Regions from separate parts of the Homo sapiens genome. Here all the other regions are linked to region 1. Evidence: promoter capture Hi-C in 16 types of primary human blood cells and fetal thymus (Javierre and others, 2016). All regions are on one chromosome and are shown on one strand. Each heading gives the region's core, a stretch centred on a gene start or on the middle of the fragment in contact. The rest is flanking DNA. Distances are from core to core; before and after follow the strand shown.

Region 1 (4,368 bases), core at 1,255-3,754:
TTCCCCCTTAAAGTCAGAAACAATGCCATGTTTGTTGTTAGCTATCAGTGCTATTAGTTTTTAATCTACCAGTGCTCAACATTTTATAAGATGTATAATTGCAAAAGCAATGAGAAAAACACATAAGTTATAAAAACTGAAAAGGAAACCACAAAACTGTGAATATCTCCTGATAATCAACTCAATAAAATAATCTGATACATGATAGAAAACTCAAAAGTTTTGCTATAACCAGAGAAAACAGAGAGAGAGAAATGTTACTGAAAGTTTCCATCCACCACACGAATCAAACCATAAAATAGGAATACCAGGAAGGAATGTTATACGTATGAAGAAAAAAAAGAAAAACTATAAAAATTTCCCTAACAGTATAAAACAAGATGTGAATAAAATGGAGAGGCCACATTTCTGAGGAGAGAGACTCAATACTATAAAGATCAGTTGTCTCCAAATTAATCTAAAATTTCAATATAACCTTATTCAAAATAGCTAAGGATTTTTAGTTCAGTCTAAAGTTTACCTAGAAGAAGAAATGCATAAGAAACATTCAAGAATATTTTCAACAAGAGTAATAAAGAGGGAGAAAGGGTTACCAAAATTTAAAATATGCATAATCTTTTAACTGAGCAACTTCACTTCTAGGAACCCATGCTCCAGAAATAATCACACATAGAGGAAGTTTACTGAATTGTTAACAGTGGCTGACAATCAAGATGCAAGCAGGACTAGAAGTGGAAGCGGTAATTTTTACCTTACATTCTTCCATACTGTTTAATTTTTTAAAATCAAGGATGAATTAAAATTTGTAATTAAACATCGATCAATAAATTAGAAAGTTATTTTCATTATAAATCATCATTTGTAATAGCAAAAAGAAACTGCAATTAAATGTCTTTCAAAAAGGGAATAGAATAAATTATAGCCCATTCAAACTCACGAGATACCAGTTAGCCTTTTAAAAAGTATTAGGGAGACCTATATGTAAAAAGTAAAAATGTCCAACATATGTAATTAAGTCAATAAGCAAGCGGTATGCAAACATGTTTGGTATATGGTATAGCCTCCCTCAAAAAAAAAAACTTTACGTGTACTTGTATGTGTCTAGAAGTGCATTTGCAAGATTTTGAAAAATGAACACTAAACTGTCAACTTTACACTGGAGTGGGACTGGGGGATGAAAAGAAATATTTAAATTTTACCTAACAGTCCGTTATTTATATTGTTGAAGTGTACATCAAACTTGCATGTCTGCAATGAATTTTTAAAATTAAGTGGTCATCTCATATAAAAATGACATGAACCCCAAAAGACAATTACAACACTGAAAAATACAGTTTAAACGTTTATTACTGTTATCCTCAGGTTTATTCACATACACTTCAAATGATCCGTAGCCTTCAGCAAAGGTGACTGCCATTTTAAAGAAATGTGACCAAATATTTCATGATAAAACAGAATACATTAAGCCTGCAATGAAAATTTTAAACTTCACAGAACCAGCAGACTCAAAAGAAGCGCCTATGCGGATGTAAATTTTTTTTTTTTTAATGTCCGGAGAAGGAACTCTCAGATTACTCTCCTCCCTGCAAAACGACTATTTACCACCTCCCCTTTGCTTCAACTTGGTCTGAGCGTCTTTAACCTCACCATTTTGAATGTGCGCAAAATGATTACCAGTCATCTGAGGGAGGCCAAATTAAAGGTGCATCTGCAAGAGGAGCTCTGGCCTGACATCGCTAACTGAGAGCAGCCCTGGCGGAAAGGTGCTGATCCCGGGAGTAGAGCGACTGCTGCGGCTCGAGCGGGGTGTCTGCGTGCCGAGCCTCACTGACAATCGGGGAAAATGCAGACGCCCAGCAAAACGACGGCAACAGAAGGCTCCTCGGGGGAGGGGTGCTGCAGGCCTGTGGCGTAAGATGGTTCCGCTCTACGCGGGGTGACGGGAAACCGCAGAAGGTGGGTGTGAGGTGTTGGTTGGGGGGCAAACTCTTGTACAGTGGCGAGTGTAGGGGAAAGCCAGCGGGCTCCTTGGCCAAGTCACCAAGGACAGCAGAAGAGGCAGCAGTAAAGAGCGGCAGCGAAGACCCCGATACCAACCAATGTCATCTGTCGGGGGGCGGCGGGCGCGACCGTCCCGGATAGGAGCGCGGCCCGGGTCCGGGCTGGACAGGGCCCAGGAGGCGAAGAAGGCCTCCCACAGCCATCAACCCCACCCACCATGGCCGGCGCAGCAGGCCAGGGACAAGCCCCGCTCCTTCCGAAGCTAGAGACAGAGAAACTGAGGAGCTGAACGCAGCAATTTCCTCGCCCCGACCCCCACACTCCCGACAGCGGAACAAGCCAGACTGAAAAAAAAAAAAAAAAACCCTCACCGAAATGTGCAGCGGCTCCGGAGCGAGAACAGCGCTCGAACCTCCACCCGCCACCACCGCCTTCTTCTCCGCCTCCAACTCCTCCCCCGCCGAACGCGAAGCGGCTGGCGGCTGTGGCGGCGGCGGCGGCGGTGGCGGCGGCGGAAGCAGAGGCGGTGGCGGTGAGTCCCGCCCCTTGCGCCGCGGTGGAGGCGAAGGAGGAGAGTACGCAAGCCCCTCCCCCATAGCAGAGATGACCAGTCAGCTTACAGGGTCTCTGCTGGGGGACAATGCATACGCCCAATCAGAACCTGAGGAGTGGGCTCACGTCAATGGTTGGGACGTGGCAGAAAAAGGGAAAAATACTTGGACCTTCTCTACAGCCTGCTCCCCCATCTCCCTCAGGGGGAGTTCACCAATTGGCTGAAGAGCGGAAAGACGAAGCCGACTCAGTCCCCCGCCCCAGCCGAGCCCACCTCCTTTCCCTGCAGTACTGCGACGTTTGGGGAGGGGGCGGAGCACCGTGTAGGAGCTAAAACTGCGCGGCCTTTTGTGGTTTGGGCTGAGAGAAAAGGGCGGGGTCTCGGAAAGGGAAGGGGGTGTGGAGAACTAACAGAAAGACTGGCGCAGTTAGGCTTTTTCGGAAATTCCAACAGCAACAACCAAAATGGAGGCATTAAAATCGATCCTGATTCGACTGGAAACCTGATTAACAAGGTTAAGGTCTCCTGGCATAAAGTTCAGTTACAATGCAGATATCGGTGAGACAAAAAAAAAAAATGACACGAAGAAAGGCTTGTTTACCCACCCTGACCCTGGGCACTATATGGCGCTTTCCACCCTCCCTCTCCGCGCTGACCCTTGCCCCTCGCTTCTTATTCTGCTGGGGCGGGGTTCAGAGGAGGCCTGCCTTTCCTCTGTATAGCCTTGGGCTGACCACAGCCTCCCAGCTTGCATCTTGAGGCTGTTTGTCAAGCCGGGAAGTAACAGCTCCCATCACATGCAACCAAAATAAATACAACAGCTGCAGTCCCCGGACACCTTGCTTAATTTAAACCTGGGTAACAGTTTAGTTAATTATGTCAGTGATACAAAACTGTTTCTTCGTTCCGCACATATTCCCTTTATTCATCTTGAAACGTGTCCGCTTATCTGATTACAGTCCCTCTGTCTTCTCTTATTCCCCACCCCCGACCCGTCGCCTGATGCCCAGGATATATTCATCGCCACCCCTCCCCCGCGAATTAAGAGCCCCACTTCTTGTGCTGTCCCCTTAACAACAGCGAACTCTCTTGCCAGTGAACTGAGACTAATTTTTTTTTGCTGTTGATGGAAATAAATTACCCAAAATTTACTGTAGAAATTTAGGTTTATGAGAATTTGCCAGACATTTTGTGAAATCCAATCTGAATCCCAGCCCACTCCTGTAGTACGTTTCTTACCAAAAAACCATTCCTTGCTTGATATTACTCTGCCTTCACACGTGTTGCTATAGGAGTTCTGACTTTAACCATCCAAGTACCTCTTTGAAAAAAAACAAAATTCATATTTTAATTACATTTCCCTAGTTTCCCTTTAGGGTGTTCCAGATTGGCCCAACTGGATACATTAACCTGTTCTAGAAGGCAGGGATTCCCAAATTTCAACCTTTTTCATACTGTATCTGTGTATACTACTCACTGTCCTTTTTTCTTTAAATAAATGTATATTTTCTTTAATTTCTTTAAGAAGGAGACTTTATAAAAGTACTATAAATGGAAAACTAGCATCACCTATTATAAGTTGAAAGTAACTGTAAGAAAAATGAATGCAAAACAATGTTTTTAAATTGTGGCTAGAAACTGTTGTCCACTAAAGGCTCTAAGTCTAAAGACAACTGTCTTTGTTAAAAGGGCAAGCTACCAAGCATTAGACACACATTAAAGATACAGCACTCAAATGGTATTTTTATCATGATGTCATCAAAGGATAGAAAAAATAGAGCCGGAATAGCAATCACTTTCTCACTATATGAGTC
Region 2 (4,162 bases), core at 1,179-3,678, 680 kb before region 1:
AATGTGACTACGTATTACCCATAAATGTCAGGAAGGGACTACACTTAAGAAGAGAGGAAGCTGTGGATGGGGATGGGCATGGAGGTAGGGGTGCTTCTGAGCCCTACCAATATTCTACTTCTTGACCTTGATTGGTGATTATACAGTGTTCCTATTATAGTAATTCATTAAACAGCATACTTATGTTTTTATGCAATTATTATAATATGTTTTCATTTAACAATAAAAACATTTTTTAAAAAGTAAAATATAACAGCTTCTAAAAACTTCTGACTTTTTAAACTTTGAAAGATGTTCAAGAATTTTTTGTGTCAGAATGTCCTGATTTTAGAAATCTTTTGAAAATCAAAGATACAAAAGACATTGCAATGATAAAAATCTACGAAGTACATATATCTGTGCATAAAAATTTGATCAAAGTCACTCATTTAGCAAATTCACTTCTCCCAAAGGCTATCAGTCTTAATACTCTTTTTCATAATGTTACTATACCTTTGCTTTAAGATAATTTATGCTTCATTCACTCAAAGCTAACTTTTAAATTTTAAACAACAAATCCATAGGTCATAAAGAGGGCACATTCTAAGACGAAAGAACATTCCAGAGTCTGGTAGCATTATTTCAGAGTTTAATAAGGAGTTTAAAACATCTAATTTTGTAAAACTTCTGCTAATTTGATATTAACTATTTCTAGAACAAAATGCAAAAAGCAAAGCATTTACTATTGAGTTTCTAATAGTCATTGGGTGGGCAAGTGTCAAGAAAAGAAAATTGATTAATGTAATATAGAATAAATCAGTGTCCTCAACCAGGGACAATTTTGTCCTCCAGGAGACATTTGGCAACGTCTGGAGACATGTATGTTTGCCACAATGAAGAAGGGGTAGTACTAATGGCATATAGTGGATAAAGGCCAGGGATGCTGTTAAGCATTGTACATTGCATAGGACAGGCCCTGTAAAAGAAATCAATGACACTTGCTAAAGCATGGCAAGGAGGACTTTATTCAAGATCATTGCCATAGGTATAGGGACTATTGCAATAAGATTTTGCAGTTGGGGAGAGAGATTGTGCTCAACTCTGTATATAGCATGGGGCAAGTGGGAATTTATAGAGAAGGAGCAGGGTAGGAGAAGTGAATGGACAACTGCTAAGAGGAAGCATCAAGGGTAAGGAGGGTTCTGGCTAACACAACCTAACAGGATTCTTGCTTATGACAGGCTAGGGTTATTAGATTTCGTCTAAGGGATGTTGGAGGATGAGGAACATATTGATGGTGATCATATATCAAGGATGCGGGTGATGGGGGGCAGTTGCTAAACTGACTCAACAGTTTGTTGCTAAATCTGATTTTACAAGAAAGTATACAGACAGGCCTAGGAGAAGGTTCAGGAGCCTGAATAAAGTTTGGTCAAGCAAAGAATTTTTATCACCCTCCATAACAAGGAAGTACCTGGCCCGATATGTAAACAGTGCCCAGGATGAAAAACCTTAGAATAAATGAATAAATGAATCAAGGAGTTATCACATATTGTTAAGCAAAAAAGTAGATTATAAAAGATTAAAATTAGTGTGATTCCCTTTTTGTAAAAAACCCCAAACAACTGTGCATATGTAATGTGTGTGTATGTATATGTATTCACAAAAATGTTAACAATTATTAGCTCAGAATGATGAAATCATGGATGAATTTTACTTACTTTTGCTTTATTTTGTTAATCTGTAATTTCTTATTTTTCCATAGTTAATTACATTACTTGAACAATAAGAAAAATACAGTTTGGTTTCTACCAAAGAAAGAACATTGACTGTGGCATCAGAAAGAGCAGGGTTTGAACACTAGTTGTATCTCTCACATTTTAATCTTCTGAGATAATTGTCTTGCTGGTAAATGCGGAAATAATACTTCACAGGCTTGCTCCTTTTCTCCTGTTTAGTTTAAATACAACTATATACATATATACACACACATATCACTGCAATAGAAAAAAAAACTGAATAAATTTATTTTACAAATATCTTTAATGTGTGAGAAAAGTATATTTATTTACAGGGTAAGAAGATTGATGATGATGTGTGAGGATTCTGAAGGGGATCGCTAGGCATTTTCAAAGACTGGATAAGTTAGCCTCCCACTTATCCCTATTTCACCTAAAAACTGATTTAACAATGATTTGTTTTTTTGCCAGGCATTGAGCTAAGTAAAAGAACAAATGAAGAAACAAATTTAAAAACTCAATCTCTATCCTCAAAGAAGTCTAATTAATAAGTGGAGAATGACACAAACAACAAGTCATAATGCAATGTATTAAATACTATCATAGACATATTCACAAAATATTATGGGAACAAAGAGGAGGAACTGAGTTTCTTACTAGTATCCTATAGCATAATACTATGCTCATGTTATTATAATTTGATCTCTTCTTTGGTTCTAAAATAGATTGGTGAAGCACCTTTCTAACCATAAACAGGAAAGAGGAGAAAAAAAGTAATGAATATGAATGTACAGAAGGTGCCTAAAGTAGAATCACAGTGCTGTGAGCAGTAACAAGCAGAAGAACTTAAAGGATAAGCTATGTACAAAATCTCCCTGAAGGCAGGAAGGCAGGTGGTGGAGTGAAGTTGAGTCAGCCTCCATCCTGTTACCATCAGATGGTTCTCAAATGCCTGGCTGGCATCTGGACTGGGAGAACAGCAGATGAAAGGACCCAGAGTGGGAGGAAAATGAATCAGTATGCGATCAGCAAATTGTACCTTGGATTGGGATAGGATTCTTATAATTTAAAAATGTGCCTATATTCAATAACTGCAACTATTTAGAGTAATGGTAGCCTACTGTATTATCAGGAAGTGGTTAAAGAGTAAACATGTTCTGGAGGCAGGGAGATACTTGGGATACAGAAATGAGCGTGCTGAGTAAGAACACAATTGCTTCAGAATGTGCAATTCAACGCTGAATACAGGGTTCCAAATGCAGTTAACATCAACTAAAGAATTTAGCGAAAGGGTGTAGCAGAGTGTAAGTTGGAATTAAATATGGGTCCTTGGTCTGATAGAGAACATTTCAAGCAAGTTCGTTGTTTATATCTGACTTAGAAGGCAATGAGAAACCATACAAGATACGATACTGCTTTCTTCACATTTTCAAAAATATCTATTTTGATCAAAAGGAGTTAGGAAGAACCTGCATGGTGGACTATAACAGATAATAATGGAAGGACTATTCGGACCAAAAATAGTTACCAGTTTCATTGTCCTACTATGTGGAGGGGACAGAGCTGAGAGAAGGGGAAGAGAATAAGGCATTGAGTGGCGTTCTACTACTGGTGTGTGCCAAATACCAATTTCAGCATAAGGACTCAACCCGGAAGGAGCCAGCTGGAGTCCTTATGCTATTCCCGAGGCCTGAAACACGAGTCTAGCTGGTTCGGCCTCATCTGTCAGGTCACAGCTGCAATATTACTTCCTCAGGGAAGCCCTTTCTTTCTTCCTCTTCTCCATCTCCACCCCCTTCCCAAAAGGGCCTCCCGCTATAAGCTCTCAAAGTTGTAATTACATGTGTCTTGTAGTTAACTATTTAGAGTCTGTCTCCACGTCCAGGCTCCAACCAACCTCTCATCCTCAAATGTCTTCACAAGGTCGGTGATCTTGGCAGTTTTACTGACCAAAGAGTGGGGGCTCATCTCCAGCACCTTGCAGTATTGACAGGAAAGTCACTGAGTAGCAAATGAATGCATGAATGAGCTCGTGTTGTTAATATTGCCAGGCCCACAGGAAGCACCCAACAAAGAGCAATGATTGGTGTTCGCGTTCATTATCTCATTTAATTCTTACAAAACCACGGCAAGGATTCAACCCCACAACTGCTGTCTAGAAAACCGAGGAAAGTGACGCAACCCGCGGGAGGTCTGACGGCCCGAGAGCCGCAGCGCCAGGCCCGGGAGCCAGCCCCGTCCACTTCCCCGGTGGATTCTTCTCCGTTCCCCGCCGGCCGCCCCAGGTGAAGCTCCTTTCCGCCGTCAGAAGGAGGCTCCCAGCGGGAAGCAGCATCGAGGGCGACCCAGGGCCAGCACGGGAAATGCCAGGGACCGCGTCAGCCGAGCCTGCTGGAACCCCGCTCCTCGCTGCAGACGCCGTTCCGCCTGAGGACAGTACTCGG
Region 3 (4,733 bases), core at 2,202-4,701, 730 kb before region 1:
ATCAGAAACAGAACCCAACCTGCCTTTAGTCTAAAGGGGCATGGCAGAGAGTGATGATCAGGATTTGGGACAGTGGGACCAAAAGTGAGAGCAGGAGAGCTTTACAGAGGATTTCCAAGCAAGGGAGATAGTTCTCAGCAGCCTGGTGGTCATGGGTGGACATAGAGGAGAAAAAGAATCTAACTGAAAAACAAGTAATTTCTTCTCCTCCTCCTCCTCCTCTCCCTCTTCCTCCTTCACTTCCTCATCCTCCTCTTCCTCCTTCACTTCCTCCTCCTCCTCCTCCTCCTTCTTTCTTATATGCTCTTGTGGTGGTTTTAAAACACGTCCACAAATTCTTTCACACTTCTCCCACCAAGAGGTAAAGTCCATGGCCCCTCCTCTTGAAACTGAGTGGATCTTCGTGACTGCCTCAATGAATAGAGTACACTGGAAGTGACACTGAGTCCCTTATTGGCTAGGCTAGAAAAGACCAGGCAGCCTTGGCTGGTGCCCCTGGGATACTCACTCTACTCACTCTGGGAGCCTTTGGCCACTCAGTAAGAAGTCCAGCTGCCCTGAGGTTTCCTTGAGACCATGTTGGGGGGCAACATAGAGGGAGAGATACCCAAGGAACTCAACTGTTCCAGCCCTAGCTGCTGGAGTCTCCCCAGTACAACTACCAGCTATAAATGGTGGAAGGGCCTTCAAGATGACCCCAGGCCCAGCTACCTTTCATGGCATAGCAATAGATAACTTGAACAGAACAGCTCTCCGTAATAGGGGCTTTCATCTTTCTTTTCTCAAAAGGGCAGGTATCCTGGAGGTCTGAAGCTGTCTTTGCTCAGAAGGTTAAGTCTTTGTTTTCGAAAGTTTCTGTCCCTCTCTCTGTGTCTCTATCTTTCTGTGTCTCTGTCTCTCTGTCTCTCTCTCTCTCTCCCTCCCTCTCTCTAACCGCAGGATTGTGTGGATAGGGAGGGCTCTGTTGATTGAAAGAGAGGAGAGAACCCAGTTCTAAGTATGGACGCTTTCCAGAGCCTAGAAGAAGTAAAGGGGTGGTAGGTTCTTGTAGTTGACACTTGTGCCCTCCCCTACACAGAAACTCAGAAGGATGTCTGATGGGACTGGTGCAAGAATGCCTGTTTGCTGAGCACAGAATGCCTCAGTCTTTAGAGCCTCCTCAGAGGACCCAGTGGCTGACTTCGGTGCAGAGGGGCAGGTGCCACAATCAGCAGAGTGCCATGTAATAAGTACAAATAATGAGGATCTCAGTGCAACTATGATGAGCTCATACCAGGCTCTCCTCCCCAAGGTTTTTGGATAGCACAAGCTGCTTGGGACCCTTACATAACACTAGAGAAGAGGAAGAACTCCTAAACATGACTGATACTGAATTTTCCATTGTAATTTTTAATTAAGAAAAATACCCTTTATTGTCCCAAAGATTTATTAAATCAATCTCACCTGATAATATACATACATTTGTGAATGGTGAGATTACCTTAACCATCCCAAAGGTGTTTACTATCTTCATATGAGGTTTTGGTATTAATAAATCAAATGATTTCTTATTGATGAAAATTTTAGGCAATGTAAAAAATAGAAATTTTTAGAGTAATTAAGTCATGAGAAGGTGCTTTTGGGGCTTTGGGGGAATCCATTAAGCTGCCCTTGCTCTTGAGAGCATCCCCATTTCTTCACTTCTGAAATGACAAGATCTTTCAAAGCCCCAACATGGCTTGAGTGTTTGAAAGCTCTAGGATGATTTTTATTTGTTCTCTCTGATAGAAATGTCAAATGCAGGAGTTTGTGTGACACAAAATGTTTAGGCACACATAGCTGTTGCCATGAACAAAATCTTCTGTATACAAAGGAAGTATTCTGAACTGTTTCCATTTTAGTTTCCAGTAGCCTTTAAAATAACCAAATAAGATCAATCATTAGGGCTTAATGACCCAGAAACTAATGCTGGAAACATTTACTCTTTAATGATGTCTCCTCTTCCTTCCTTGGCCTCCCTAACTAACATAAATTCATCATTTGTCTGTGTCTATGAAGTAAGATCAGATTGACTGGGGGTCTCTTCTCAATATTTTTTTTTTACCTTAACCATGTACTGCAGTTGATCAGAGCAATTAACAGTGATCCAATCCAGACAGAAAGTTATTTTAAATAACCTGACAACCAATCTGAATTCCAACTCTATGAAGGAAACTTGGCCAAAATGTGTTTAGTGTGTTCAAACATAGGCACTATTCAAAATCAAAGCAGAAAAAAAATGAAACTCTGTTAAAAGTGGCTCAAGATGAAGGCATTGCAATTCCCATCTTGAGGGCGGCTGATGAGTTCTTTTCAAGGTGAGGTGTGCCCTAGCATGCAGAGAGGACAGAAAGGGATAAAAGGAACAAATAAGCAAACAGAATGTGCTCTCAGAACTCCCAGCTTGATTTCCTCAAAGAAAAAGTAGAAATAGATCAAATCAAAGCATTCTTTAAAGATGCTGAGGTGGCTTTAACTGACTAAAATGTAGCTTTAAAAAAATCAGTATCCTAAATGCCAGGTGATTAATAAAGGTCAAGCAGGCAACTTCCGGACTTTATCAGTATAAGCTTAGTCGTGTGCCTTTATTAGGAAATGATCAATACCTTCCTACTTAGCAATATTTTAGGGAATATTTTCCTATAATAGGTAAGGTTTTTAAAATATGAAGACAAAAGTGTAGTATAGTTACTTTGTTTTTCTGGTAGAGCTAAGGAAGTAAATGAACCTCACAATAGTCAGTTTATGCACCCAAGTGAGATTAATTGCTTTACTTACACCATTACATTATTACACAATTCTTGTTATGTGGGGTTTTAAAAGTCTTCACTGTTTAAGCTGTTTTCATTTTAGTTATTCTGTTATTTACAACTGAAAGAGAAAACTGGAGAGGTCTTTGTGAATCTCTACCATATTTTTTTATGACTTTTGATTTCAAGAACCAAAATTGAGGATAAACCTGAAGCAAACACTGTTGAAATGGCCTTTGCAGTACAGACTTCATAGGCTAGAGGGCACAATTGTTTTAGCTGGTCCAAGGCAATGGAAAGCAAAACCTAGTCAACTGTTTCTTACACAGTGACCTAGCAGTTTTAAAATTTGGACCAAGAACGTGAAATTGCTCCTCGCTAAAAATCCACATCTGCTGGAAGAAACAGTAGAATAAAATGTGCATTTTCTATAGTAGTTTTGGATGTTTTTTGCAGAGGTCCTGGGCTTGTGAGAAAAAATAGAACACTCCAAAAGGTCCTTTGGTTCAGCAAAATTTTCCTATCTTAGATTTATCAAGCTGTCCACTCAGTTTTCAATGTGGCCTTTTCCTTCTAAAAATAACATCCTCAGCCGGGCGTGGTGGCTCATGCTTGCAATCCCAGCACTTTGGAAGGCCAAGGCGGGCAGATCACCTGAGGTCAGATGTTTGAAACCAGCCTGCCCAACATGGTGAAACCCCGTCTCTACTAAAAATACAAAAAAAAAAAAAAAAAAAAAAAAAAAATTAGCCACGCGTGGTGGCAGGTGCCTGTAATCCAAACTACTTGGGAGGCTGAGGCAAGAGAATCACTCGAACCCGGGAGATGGAGGTTGCAGTGAGCCGAGATCACGCCACTGCATTCCAGCCTGGGCTACAAGAGCAAAACTCCGTCTCAAAAACAAATAAAATAAAATAAAAAATAATAACAGCCCCTCCCTCCAATGTTTGTATGTATATATGCATATAACGTACTTGACAAGGAACTTGGTAAATACTTGACTATCATTAGGAAATTACAGGGTTGATTCTAAGTAGTGAGATTATGTCTTCTATGAAAATGGTTTCTTTTTAAAATGTACACATATTAATAATTTTTTTTTCCTAAAGCAGTTAGTTAGTCAATGATATTGTGTGGCCTTAACATTGTCTCTGCCTTTATTTGTTCCCTTCCTGCTTAGGGCTTTCTGGATCTTCTTTGCTGTTTTACCTTTTTTAATATGAAATGCTTCTGGTTTCTCCTCCTCACATATCATGTATGACCCCAAGTCCCAGATTATTTTTCTCTTTACTCATTTCTTCTGCTTCCTTCATGCCAGCACACCCAGGCAGAAGGAGAGCCACAGGAAAAGTGACCTCCACACTCACAAATTCCTGCTTCATTTCATCATGTTTTTTGCCTCACAAACTACAATTCTTATTCCCAAATTCAAATTTTTTCTTGAGTGATAGTTGTCTTTCTCTTCTTTCTGCACACCCAAAGATCTCAAGTAGGATATTTGGGGACTGATGAAGGGGAGAACTCAAGGAAATGATTGGGGCCTCAAAGAAGCTTCTAGGCCAGGTGTGGTGGCTCATGCCTGTAACCCCAATACTCTGAGAGGCTGAAGTGGGAGGATTGCTTGAGCCTAGGAGTTCAGCGCCAGCCTGGGCAAAAGAAGGAGGCCCTATTTCCACACAAAAAAATTTTTAAATAGCCAGGCATGGTGATGGGTACCTGTGGTCCCAGCAACTTGGGAGGCTGAGATGGGAGAATCGCTTGAGCCCAGCAGGTTGAGGCTACAGTGAGCCGTGATCATGATCATACCACTTTACTCCAGCCTGGGCAACAGACTGAGATCCTGTCTCAAAAAAAAAAAAGAAAAGAAAAGAAAAAAGAAGAAGTTTCTAGATAAGGGATAAATGTCTCATTAGATATGATGTTAAATACTTTTTGAAGCCAATCTTTCCACTTCCACCTATGAAA
Region 4 (4,323 bases), core at 148-2,647, 770 kb before region 1:
TTTTTTACCTTCCTTCCTTTGAAAAACCTTCTATTTGTGATTGAAAGATTGGGGAAAAGTAACTATTTTATGGTCCTGGCTGTGTCTAAACCCTAATCTAAAAATTTGCTGGCATTCTCTCATTGAAGTTGTCACAGCTTACATATTTAGTTTTCTATAATATCTCATACACCAAAATCCAAAAACCACAAAAACAAATCTTTCCTTGGTTTTACATCATTTAGATGCTTCAAGGTAATAGGCATCCGTTGTTTGCAAAGCCCATTCTGGGTCTGGATGTGTGCTAGATGAGGTACAAAGATATCACAGGTGAGCTGAGGACAAAACCAGAGCCAGAGCCTCCCATGATGATCAACTTTGCTGTATGTCATGTTCCACAGAGTCATTGCAAGGCTAACTTTGGTCAGAGAGTGCTAAAGTGGAGGTGCCAGAAAGAAGGAGAATGTGGACCCCATGCCGGACACATGTTTGCATATATTATTTCATTTAGTCTTCACACTCACCTTGACTGGTTTATAAATGGAGAATCTTTCATGTCAAGAGGTTAAGTAACTTGCTCAAGGTCAAACAGCTAAGAAGTGACAGCAACAGGATTAAAATCTTGGCTGGGCGCAGTGGCTCATGCCTGTAATCCCAGCACTTTGGGAGGCCAAGGTGGGCGGATCACCTGAGGTCAAGGGTTCCAGACCAGACTGACCAACATGGAGAAACCCCGTCTCTACTAAAAACACAAAAATTAGCCGGGTGTGATGGCACATGCCTGTAATCCCAGCTACTCAGGAGGCTGAGGCAAGAGAATTGCTTGAATCTGGGAGGCAGAGGTTGCAGTGAGCCAAGATTGCACTCCAGCCTGGGCAACAAGAGTGAAACTCCATCTCCAAAACAAACAAACAAACAAACAAACAAACAAACAAAACAGGATTAAAAAAAAAAAACAGGATTGAAATCTTGCTATAATTTCAGGGCCAAGAGAAAGGCCTATTGTGAGTATAAGTTTATTACCCTACTGACTGATTGATGTATGAAATTTTGCTGTTAAAGCTAATTTTGTATAGTGGTTTTCCAAATGCATTCTTCCAAAAATTACCATTCTAAAGTTTTAGTGGTTTTTCAGTGGTTCTAGAAAATTTTATTGGAATTTCATTTATAAAACAGAGTTCTAATTTGAATGAAATGCATGTGTTATTTACCAACACCTGCAACACCACGAAAATATTCATTTAAATTCTATTGGTTAATTTCATAAGTAAATGTCACAAATTGGGACTTACAAAAAAAGAACCCTGTTTTTTAAAATAACACTTTTTGTGTTGTTCTATAATTGGAATTCTGTTACTGCCTTATTTCTCTGATTCTCTTTTCATCAATATTTACTGAAAGAAGTAATATTCTTTGATTACATTTCCTACACCCCCTTGCTCTCTGAAGCCCACTTCAATCAGAACTCAATCCTGTCCACTCCAACAAAGCTGTGATAGTCTGTGTCATGACTGCCTTGACGAAAGCCAGCCAGGACACCCAAATTCTGGGGTTATTTTTTGCTCTTACCTCACTGGCTCCTCAGAAACATTCAACACAGATAACAGCACCATTCTTCAAATCCTTTCCCCCATGGCTTCCAGGGCACTGTAGTTTCCTGGTTTCCTAACCTCCCTCTCCTGGTCCCCACCACTGGATCTTCTTCCTCACTTTGTCCCCTAATCTACCTGCTGATAACTGGCCCTTACCCTTAGTTTCAGAACCATATATTCAGCCCTTATTTGATATCTCCACAGGGAAGTTTAACAGAGTTCATATTTAATGTGTCCAAAACAATATTCTTGATCTTCCCCTCTCAACCTATTCCTCGCATATTGTGCCCCATCTTGGTAAATGACCTTACTGTCTACCCAGTTGCTCCGACTGAAAATATGAGAGTAACCCTTGACTCCTTTTCCTTTACTTTCCACAGCTAACTGACTGACAGGTCCTATCAGCTTTATCTCCAAAATGTATCCTGAGTCACTCTCTCCAGCCCTGCTGCTACCGTTCCAGTCCAAATAACCAACATTTCTTCTGAGTTTCTGCTCCAGCCTCCTGCTTCCACTCTTTCCCCTTCTCCAGTTCTCCATTCTCCCTGCCATAGCTCAGGGTTTCTCAAGCACGTCACGACGGACAGTTTAGGCTGCCTATTTCTTTGTTGTAGGGGGTAGTCCAGACATGGTAGGCTGTTTAGCAGCATCTTTGGCCTTTGCCCACTAGATGTCAGTAGCACTCCCCAGTGTGACAACTGAAGCTGTCTCCAGGCATGGACAAATGTCCCCAGGAGGCAAAAATCACCCCCTGTTGAGAATCCCTGCCATAGCATGAACAATTTTTACTTTTAAAAAATGAGTCATAATTAATGATAATGGTAAGTAGTAAAATTTAAAATAAAATAAAATAACAATAATAGTAATGTCACTTCTCTCATTTAAACCCTCCAGTGACTCCCCAAGTCTCTTACCACAGCCAGGAAGGCTCTGCATGATCTGGTTCCTGCCAACCTCTCTGACTTTAAGGCCCCCATGGCCTGATTTCTATTCCTTATATAAACAAACTCATTCTCACCTCAAGGCAATCACACTTGCTATTCTTTATATCTAGGGCACCTTTCCCTTAACTTCCTGCATGGCCACTTTCTTTACACAGTGGATCCAACTCCTCAGAAACTTCTCTCACCACCCTACCTCGTGTGTCCCCACATCACATTATCATGTCTGTTTTCTTCCCAGCATCTATAGTTAGTTACGTGAGATGACTTCATGTACATGTTTCCTTATCTGTCTCCTCAGCTACAATATAAACTCCTAGTCTTTTGTGCACACCACTATGTCTCCAGTGTCCTGAACAGTGCCAGGCACACAGTAGGTGCCCAAGAAATACTCACTGAGTTTTAAAATTCTTCAAGAGGCCAGGTGTGGTGGCTGTAATCTCAGTGCTTTGGGAGGCTGAGGCAGGAGGATGGCTCGAGGCCAGGAATTCAAGATCAAGGCAACGTAGTGAGACTCCATCTCTAAAAAAATTATTAAAAATTAGCCAGGTATGGTGTCTTGTGCCTGTAGTCCCAGCTATTTGGTAGGCTGAACCAAGAGGATTGCTTGAGCCCGGGAGTTTGAGGCTGCAGTGAGCTAAGATTGTGCCACTGGACTCCAGTCTGAGCAACAGAACAAGACCCTGTTTCTAAAAAAAATAAAATAATGATGATTCGTCATGTCTTGGATTAACATACTGATGTGGTTATATGCAAAGCTTCTCAGTCTAAATGTTTGCAAGTATTTTTAGTAGAACAGGAGACTGGTCACACACAGCTCAAATAAATTCTCATGTTGACATTATGCATTTGATGGGATGCATGTGGAGAATGTCCCTTTCGTAAGGAAAAGTTATTGGCTTGATTGGATTATAATTGGAGCCCAAATACTAATAAACGAAGTTTGGCAAAGTTAAGACCATGAAACTCATCTTTGTAAGTGACCTAAGCTTGTTGAAACCCATTCCCAGAGGTGAAAGCCTAATGAATCTATCTCTTGTGCCATGGGGCCTTCTGTTGATATAAGCTTTGTCAGGGGAATGAGGTATTGACGTTTTAATGTCTGTGGATTATGGTAATGCGCTTAACTATATTGATCTGTTCAGTATTCTGTACTTGCTTTGTTGCTATCCCAAAACTCCAAAAGAAGGAGGTGTCCAGATGGTCATAACACAGACTATGAAAAGGAATCAAAGAAGTAGAATATCAGTGTAATTCATAAAATATAAGACATCAAATTTTGACACCTCAGTTGAGCCACAGGCCTAATGGGAAAGTACTTAATGGGCTAAATTAATCCTACCACTGACAAAAATTGATGTGCGTGATAAGAATGAAAATCTCCCAACTGACCTGCAGTCTGTGGGAGAGACAGAGAAGTAACTTTATGGGTGAGCCCTTGGGTTCTGCCATTCAGGCAAGGACTTGGAAGTAATGTAGTAATGTAAGTACAGGTAGGGGAGGCACAGAATTCTGGGGTCCCAAGTGGGCCTGGAAAACTCCAAGGCAAGAATCAGTGGAGGGAAAAGCCCTGGGCTCTGAAGTTAGGCAGGCCTGGCTTAGCCCCCCAAGTTCTGCACTTACTAATCACTGCTTATCAGAATGCCTGCCTGCAGGTTCTTTTATATCCCTATGCTTTCATTTTTTTCACCTATAAGGAGAGGGAAAATAATGTTTCTTTTCTCATAAGATGTGAGAGGGATAAAATGTGATAATGTAGGGAAAGTATCAGGACCAGATGAGGCATGTGAATTATCTTCATCCCTGTTTTC

The links. The method cuts DNA at HindIII sites, captures the fragments that hold promoters and counts their contacts. A CHiCAGO score of 5 or more calls a contact.
Region 2: a contact is called between a fragment that was not itself captured here and the fragment with the promoter of PJA2 in region 1, in 1 of 17 cell types (total B cells). The highest score is 5.5, in total B cells.
Region 3: a fragment that was not itself captured here is called in contact with the fragment with the promoter of PJA2 in region 1 in 1 of 17 cell types (naive B cells); the score reaches 7.2 in naive B cells.
Region 4: a contact is called between a fragment that was not itself captured here and the fragment with the promoter of PJA2 in region 1, in 1 of 17 cell types (M0 macrophages). The highest score is 5.2, in M0 macrophages.

Annotation. Positions count from the first base shown.
Region 1 is chr5:109,407,470-109,411,837 of GRCh38, forward strand. It overlaps PJA2 (praja ring finger ubiquitin ligase 2), which reads right to left and starts at 2,505. Exons shown (of 10, transcript NM_014819.5): 1 at 2,373-2,505. RefSeq lists enhancers at 1,590-1,689, 1,730-1,849, 2,960-3,139 and a silencer at 2,370-2,449. The HindIII fragment of the contact is 12,845 bases long and covers 1-4,368 here.
Region 2 is chr5:108,724,018-108,728,179 of GRCh38, forward strand. LINC01023 (long intergenic non-protein coding RNA 1023) reads right to left here. Exons shown (of 1, transcript NR_046368.1): 1 at 3,808-4,162. LOC107986440 (a long non-coding RNA gene) reads right to left here and starts at 247. Exons shown (of 4, transcript XR_001742836.2): 1 at 1-247. RefSeq lists enhancers at 3,487-4,068, 3,908-4,162. The HindIII fragment of the contact is 9,255 bases long and covers 1-4,162 here.
Region 3 is chr5:108,678,458-108,683,190 of GRCh38, forward strand. No RefSeq gene overlaps it. Among named protein-coding and RNA genes, the nearest start is that of LINC01023, 47 kb to the right of the region's middle. RefSeq lists an enhancer at 2,938-3,438. The HindIII fragment of the contact is 1,731 bases long and covers 2,587-4,317 here.
Region 4 is chr5:108,640,245-108,644,567 of GRCh38, forward strand. No RefSeq gene overlaps it. Among named protein-coding and RNA genes, the nearest start is that of LINC01023, 86 kb to the right of the region's middle. RefSeq lists an enhancer at 2,084-2,378. The HindIII fragment of the contact is 3,742 bases long and covers 1-3,268 here.